Linked DNA regions of Homo sapiens: region 1 is linked to region 2. The links are contacts of gene promoters, found by promoter capture Hi-C in human tissues and cell types (Jung and others, 2019). All regions are on one chromosome and are shown on one strand. The core of a region is centred on a gene start or on the middle of the fragment in contact, and the rest is flanking DNA. Distances in the headings are between cores, read along the strand shown. Region 1 overlaps ATRIP (ATR interacting protein). Region 2 holds the start of KIF9 (kinesin family member 9).

Region 1 (2,700 bases), core at 55-2,554, 1.2 Mb before region 2:
GTCCTCAGGGTTGGTCTCTACCCCAGAGCTCACGCAGGAGGAATGTGTCGGTGAGTCCCCAGGTGCTCCGCTTCTCTTAGCAGCTGCCAAGTCCTGCAGGGCCTGGCAGTGTAAGCCGATGAAGAACTGTACAAGGGGGAGGAAATGCACGGCTCCAGGAAGCTGGCAGAGTGGGAAGGCCCTTCTGCCTCCCTCTGCTGGGTCTCCATCACGTGAGCACTCATTCCGGGCAACCAGATTCAGTCCAGTGAATGCCAGGTTCTGTGCTTCTCTCAGGGCTGAGAGGGAAAATGACCCATCATAAGAACCTGTGGTCCTGAGGCCTGACATTCCAGCCAAGGTACTGGCAACAAACACAAAGAAAAATAGATTAAGTGTGGGATGGAGATAAGGTCAAGAGCCCCAAACAGCCTGCCTGCCAAATTCTCCAGGCTGCCTGCCCTTCCCACAGACTTCTCAGGCTGGCCAGGGCCAGAAAGGAATTTGCTTCCAGGAAGCTCCTTCCCAAACAAGCTTTCCAGGAGTCTTATGCTTACCTGCCAAACCCTGGTGGCTGCAGGGGGGTGCCAGCAGGAGACTCAGAACTACTACTCAGGAGGTGGCAAAGGCTTAGGGATGACCCTGGGATCAAAGGCTGCTTCAGGAGCAGGTTTATCAAAATGGAACCTGCAGAAGACAAGATGACTCTAGAAGGTTCTGACATGGGAGATCTTTTCGGTGGCTTTCAGAAGGAAACAGTAAGGATTCTTTGGATGCCAACTGTCCTCTAGGCTGCCACTAAGCCCCAGGAAGATGCCTGTGGGTGCGGAAGGCTCTGGGACATACCTGCCCTTGGCCCTTTCCACTTTATAAAGTCTTCTGCTTAAGCCACATACTTTGACTTCCCTGGACTCTCTGAAGGACTGCCCGGGGCACCGGTTCTCAGAGGCCTGGGCAATTCTTCTGCATATTACTCAGAGCCATGCAGGCCCCTGCAGGAGAAGCAGGGATTCTGGTACCTTGAGTGTTTGATCTCTGTCTCCAGCTGTCAACAAAGCTTTTCTGGGCCTCTTCTTGTTTTATGGAGTCACCTCTCAGACTGTGGGGCTTACTATCTGAAATGTGATAAAATGTAAATCAAAACTTGAGCCCAGAAGCATGGGCATATTAGAAACTTTTACATGCAATGAGTTTAAAACACACGCTGTTCTACTTCTTCGAACTTGGAACAAACAAGAGCCAAAGCGGCTCAAGAGCCCTGCATCTTTTACCTTCCTTATGTAAAACAGGAACTCATACAAGGAAAGGAAAAGAAAATCAAGCTGTTTGCCTCACTCAAAATGAGGCAATTAGATAAAACAGTGACCACTAACATTGACATGGTGCTTGTTACGTGCTAGACAGTGTTTTAAGAGCTCTATACGCATCAGCCCATTTGTTCCTCAGTGACCCTACAAGGATTTATCATTAGGTCTGTTTTACATATAGGGAAACTGAGGCACAGAGACTAAAGGACTTGCCCAAATCATATAAGCCAGTTAACAGCATTACTGGGACTCACATCCAGGCTACTGGGCTCTACTGCCTGCTTGTAACACTACTGTACACTGCCCCTTTAGCTGCTAGATGCCAAAAATGTAAGTGGGCTACAGTTTCTCAGAAGTGTTATGATGGCCAAGGATTTGAAAGGTTGATGGTAAGAAGAGGGTCAATGTATCCGATTTATAAGATACACTGACATAGCAGTCTGAAAACCTACTGATGTTAGATTGTCTCTCTCTAAAAAACAGCAGATCCCCTCAATCTGGACTGAGTTATAAAAACTCAAAAGCTGGACTACAAAAGGAAAACAGAGGCTGGGCACGGTGGCTCATGCCTGTAATCCCAGCATTTTGGGAGGCTGAAGTGGGTGGATCACGAGGTCATGAGATTGAGACCATCCAGGCCAACATGGTGAAACCTGTCTCTACTAAAAATACAAAAATTAGCTGGGTGTGGTGGCGCATGCCTGTAGTCCCAGCTACTCGGGAGGCTGAGGCAGGAGAATCGCTTGAACATGGGAGGCAGAGGTTACAGTGAGCCGAGATCACGCCACTGCACTCCAGCCTGGTGACAGAGTGAGACTCCGCCTCAAAGAAAAAAAAAAAAAACAAGAAAAGAAAAACAGATTCCTGCATACTAGCTAGGTTTTTGGCATGGTCAATTGATGCTGTGATGGTTTAAAAATATGCCCACAAGCATGATGGCAGGTGCCTGTAATCCCAGCTATTCGGGAGTCTGAGGCAGGAGAATCACTTGAACCCGGGAGGCGGAAGTTGCAGTGAGCTGAGATCGTGCCATTGCACTCCAGCCTGGGTGACAGGGTGAGACTCCGCCTCAAAAAAAAAAAAAAAAAGGCCCACAAATGCTTTGACACAACTCCCCTTCAAAAGGTATAAGCTTGGGAGGAGGGGGGAGGGATAGCATTAGGAGATATACCTAATGCTAAATGACGAGTTAATGGGTGCAACACACCAACATGGCACATGTATACATACGTAACACACCTGCACGTTGTGCACATGTACCCTAAAATTTAAAGTATAATAATAAAATAAAAATAAAAAATAAAAATTAAAAAAAAGGTATAAGCTTGGTTTCTCCCCTTGAATGACGCCCAGACTCAGTGATTTGCTTCTAACAAATACAATGTGGCAGAGGGGATGCTGTGTGACTTCTGAG
Region 2 (4,975 bases), core at 1,059-3,558:
GCTTGGTGGCTCACGCCTGTAATCCCAGCACTTTGGGAGGCTGAGGTGGGCGGATCACGAGGTCAGGAGCAGTCTGGCTAACGTAGTGAAACCCTGTCTCTACTAAAAACACACACAAAAATTAGCCGGGCGTGGTGGCGGGCGCCTGTAGTCCCAGCTACTTGGGAGGCTAAGGCAGGAGACTGGCTTGAAGCCAGGAGGTGGAGGTTGCAGTGAGCCAAGATCATGCCACTGCACTCCAGCCTGTGCCACACAGCGAGACTCTGTCTCAAAAAAATAAAAATAAAAGCAAAAAAACCGAGGCTTACAGAGATTAAGTAACTTGCTCAAGGTTACAACTAGGATTTTAATCCAAATCCTTCTGCTTTCAAAGCCATACTCAACCATCCTACTCTACCATCTCCAGAGGTCTGACTCAACTATGTTGCAGAAGAAAAGTTTCCTTAACCATGTAGAAAATAAGAAGAGCAGGCTGGGCGCGGTGACTCACGCGTGTAATTCTAGCACTTTGGGAGGCCGAGACAGGCAGACTGCTGAAGCTCAGGAGTTCGAGACCAGCCTGAGCAACATGGTGAAACCCTGTCTCTACTAAAAATAGAAAAAATTAGCCAGGGGTAGTGGTGCGCGCCTGTAGTCCCAGCTGCTGGGGAGGCTGAGGCAGGAGAATCGCTTGAACCCAGGAGAGAGAGTTTCAGTGAGCCAAGATAGCGCCACTGCACTCCAGCCTGGGCAACAGAACGAGACTCCGTCTCAAAAAAAAAAAAAAAAAGAAAAAAGAAAAGAAGAGCAAAAGAATCTCTGCATAGTTTTATTTTTTCTTTTATTTATTTATTTGTGTGTGTGTGTGTGTGTGAGAGAGACAGAGAGAAATAGGAGAAATAGGATCTTGCTGTGTTGCCCAGGCTGGAGTGCAGTGGTGTGATTACAACTCACTGCAGGCTTGACCTCCTAGGCTCAAGCGATCCTCCCACCTCACCCTCCTGAGTAGCTGGGACTACGGGCACAGGCTACCATGCCCAGACAATTTTTTATTATTTGTAGAGACAGGGTCTCCCTACATAGCCCAGGCTGGTCTCCAATTCCCCCACTCAAGTGATCCTCTCGCCTCTCAAAGTGCTGGGATTACAGGTGTGAGCCACCATGCCTGCCCTGTTTGTTTTTTAAACAGGGATCACGCACAGATGCTGAGAGCTTTCCAGCTAAAGCCCAACAGGGAGCCCCACTGATCATCTCCCCAACCGGACGTCTCCACATGGTTCGGTGGCTTGGCCAGGCAGCAGCACAGCATGCCTCTTCCTCATGAAAAGACCCAGGCACAGGAGGGAGGCTGGCTCTAGCGACCAGAATGCTGGTGGGGAACAGGTGGTTAAGATATCTTTCCCTCTTAATATCAGTCAGCATCCCTCTCCCCACGCGGCCAGCAGGCCCAGCCCCGGGGACCTTTGTGGTGGTGAGTGGTGCCTTCCAGTATGGGGCAGGGTGGCTTCCCACCTCAAAAATTTTCCAGAGAAGATTTTAAAAGCTCTTAAGAGACAAAGTAGTAATTCAACAATTAAGGGCAATGATTCCTAAGGAGAAGCCTTCTCTTCTAGAACAGCACAGCCAAGTTCGACAGGCACAAAGAAATATCTGTAGTGACAAGAGAAGGTTCTTCAGTGGTGCCCATCAGCATGTGGAGCCGGCCACCGCCCCTGCCTCCATAGAAGGTAAGTCCATTTTCTCTTGTCTGCATGACAGAAAAAGGAGGCTGTCACCCGTGTCTCCCACTCCAAGGGCCTAAGCGGCGCACCTCTCAACCTTTCCTTTCAAGGGCTGAAAGGTTGTCCTCTTCCTCTCCCCACTCGGCCCCGATCCCCTTTTGCTCGGCACCTCTCTCCCCACTACTCGGCCCCCCTCACACCTCTTCTCCCCACCCCTCTCCCTGCTAGACCTCTCTTTCTCTGTCCCCCGCCCCTTTTTACTCCCCGCTCGACCCCTTTTCCCTCAGCCCGCTGCCGCCCAGTCCGCGGTACCTTGAGGGTCACGTCGCACAGCTTGCCCTGCCGCCGGATCTCCTCCATGACGCCGTAGCCGCGACTAGGCAACTCAGACACGGAGAAGTGCACCAGATCCTCCAGCTCCTCCGCGCCGTCCTCCACCATCTTCCCCGGCCGCTGCAACTGCGCAGGCCTCGCCGGCCGGCTAGACACTAACCAGGGCGGGGCGATAGCGCACGCCGACAGCCGCTCGGAGCGCGGAGCAGCAATCGGACGGGCCTCCGCGGCCGCCGTAGTTGAATCTCCTCGGCGCCGGAAGCCCCGCCACTCCGCTTCCTGGTTCATGTGCGGCCTTCGTTCCCTCGCTATCTCGACCTTGACTTCGCATGTGCATCCGCCGAAGTCTTTCTAGATCAATCGGCCCCATCTCTCGTCTTCCCGATTCGGCCATGACCTCACCCGTATCCTCGACGTAGGACCTCGGACTTCATTTCCGCCACCCCGACACTTCCGGAATCCCCGGAAGCGACCCGTTGCCATGGCGACTATGTACACAGCCAGGCAGCCCCGCGTGGGGAGTGCAGGTGGTTTCGGTTGCGGCAGTCGCGTCCCGGGAGCGTCGCTGCCTGGTGAACGGTGAGCAGGGGCTGCTCGCCGGTGGGAGTGGGGAGACGGGAAAAGGGTGTGCGCCCGGACTGCTGAAAGTGGCTGGGGTCCAAAAACCGCTTTATCTGGGGGTTCCCAGCTGGGTCGCTCATCTCTGAAACCCAGGCGAAGGAGGGCTCGACGTCGCGGGAGTCCTTTCAACCTGACCGCGGCTTACGGTCTTCGGAGCTAATGTTCATTGGTCCCACAAAGGGGTCCCACGTCGCGTCCAGGACATAGAGGCCGTGAGGCAGGGAGCCAGAGGTCGTCTGGACTCTTCCGTACTAGTCAGTTTTCGAACTAGAGGGGGCTTTGGGATCACCAGTCGGAGCCCTTCGTGTTACAGGTGAGGAAACCTCTCCAGAGAGGGACCGGAATGGGTCCAAAGCCCACTGCCGCCCAGGCTCCACGCGGGGGTCCGGCACATTGGGTGAGAAAAAGGAGAAAGTCTAGTTTTGCCTGCATCCTAGTCTTGTTCAGCCAAGGCCAGGTGCAGTTGGACCCAGTGTTTTGGATTCGGGTGTTGGTGCTGCCGCTACGGGTAGCTATGAGGGTTCCCCATGACAGCCCCTCATCTGGACGGGAGCACTGGAAGATAGGGACCCACCTGGTGCCTTCCACCCCACCAAACGCTCCCTTTCCTCTTGTCTAGTCTTCATGGCTGCTTGTTGCCAATTCTGTTCATTCCCACTAAAGACAAATGAGGAAACCTCGAGCGCCTTAACACAGAAGTCTCCTGGTGGCCATTCAGAGACTTGCTTTGTTATACCAGAAATATCAAAGGGTGGTTCCCCAAGGAGAGACATTCCCCACAAGGTCCTGAGGGAGAAAGGGAGGGGGCCGGGCGCCGTGGCTCACGCCTGTAATCCTAGCACTTTGGGAGGCTGAGGTGAGCGGATTGCTTGAGCTCAGGAGTTCAAGACCAGCCTGGGCAACATGGCGAAACCCTGTCTCTACGAAAAATACAAAAATTACCCGGGCGTGGTGGTGCACGCCTGTAGTCCTAGCTACTTGCGGGGCTGAGGTGGGAGGATCGCTTGAACCCAGGATGTGGAGGCTACGGTGAACCGAGATTGTTTCACTGCACTCCAGCCTAGGTGACAGAGTGAGACCCTGTCACAAAAACAAATAAACAAAAAACAAAAACAAAAACAAAAAAAGCGTGTGGTGAGGTGCTGGATGTGGATTTTTGCACCTGGAAACCAAGTGTCCTCCTGGAAGGGCTGTGGGCTTTGGTTGGAGTTGTCATGGAAGGGGAGTGACATCATATGCCCCTTGGGACTCTCTCAGTAGTGACTGAAGATAGACCCACATATGAAGATTCAGCTGCCCTCTGACTTCCAGCCATTACCATCACCAACCACCGCCATTTCCTGAATACCTACTCTGTGCTGGGCTCTGCCCTGGACATTGTGAGGGGATTCAAAAGAGATAAAAAGCACAATCCTTGCCTTCAAGCAGCTTGTAATTTAATTTTGGGAACTGAAACCCACTCAAATGAAGCGACGTAAGAATGGTAACAAGCAGTATTTCAGTAAGTGCAAGATGGCATGGGGTCCCTAAATGTTTGGGTGTTAAAGGGCTGCTGAGTAGCAGGCTCACAAGACGGGTGTGCAAAGGAAGACTTTATTGCAGGTGGATATGGCTCCTGGCCTGCTTGGAGCCATGGTGTCAGCATGGGAGGGCCTTGGGAAGCATACATGGGGTGACTGCGTGTGCATGTGCATGTTGGCAAATAGCAGGGCAGAGAAGGGCCAGGCTCTGGAGGGAGAGTGATGCTTTTGCTTATTTGTTTTGTTTTGTTGAGACAGTCTCACGCTGTTGTCCAGGCTGGAGAGCAGTGGTGTGCCATCACTGCTCAAGTGATCCTCCTGCCTCAGCCTCCTGGGAAATTGGGACCACACGCGTGCACCACCACACTTGGCAAATTTTTAAAATTTTTTGTAGAGACAAGGTCTTGCTGTGTTACCCAAGCTGGTTCCTAATTCCTGGCCTCAAGCGATCCTCCCACATTGGCCTCCCAAAGGCTGGGATTACAGGCGTGAGCCACCATGCCCAGCTGAGGTTGATGCTCTGAACTGGCCTGTGCTACTCTTGTGCAGGGGCTTCAGGGAGAGAGGCCTGGGCACCTGCTCCCAGAGCTCCCCTGCTTCTTCATGGTCCCTTTCGGAGCATACCCTGGATGGCATCTGAATTTCCCTGGGCAGGAGAATGGGCCCTTGGATGTGAAGAGTGGTTCCCCGGTTCCCCAAGCTTTAGAAATTGAGTGTGAGGCTGAGGTGGGTGGATTGCTTGAACCCAGGAGTTTGAGACCAGCCTGGGCAACATGTTGAAACCCCATCTCTACAAAATTG

Evidence for each region. The method cuts DNA at HindIII sites, captures the fragments that hold promoters and counts their contacts. A contact is called where the count stands out against the background at its distance.
Region 1: a contact is called between a fragment that was not itself captured here and the fragment with the promoter of KIF9 in region 2, in 1 of the 25 tissues and cell types used here (dorsolateral prefrontal cortex).

What each region holds. Positions count from the first base shown.
Region 1 is chr3:48,457,753-48,460,452 of GRCh38, reverse strand. It overlaps ATRIP (ATR interacting protein), which reads right to left. Exons shown (of 13, transcript NM_130384.3): 6 at 999-1,094; 7 at 537-666; 8 at 1-343. It overlaps ATRIP-TREX1 (ATRIP-TREX1 readthrough), which reads right to left. Exons shown (of 15, transcript NR_153405.1): 6 at 999-1,094; 7 at 537-666; 8 at 1-343. Among named protein-coding and RNA genes, the nearest start is that of TREX1, 7.1 kb to the left of the region's middle. The HindIII fragment of the contact is 6,156 bases long and covers 1-2,700 here.
Region 2 is chr3:47,280,132-47,285,106 of GRCh38, reverse strand. It overlaps KIF9 (kinesin family member 9), which reads left to right and starts at 2,308. Exons shown (of 21, transcript NM_182902.4): 1 at 2,308-2,612. KLHL18 (kelch like family member 18) reads right to left here and starts at 2,163. Exons shown (of 10, transcript NM_025010.5): 1 at 2,013-2,163. The coding sequence starts at 2,141. RefSeq lists enhancers at 2,180-2,569, 1,785-2,984. The HindIII fragment of the contact is 9,211 bases long and covers 1-4,975 here.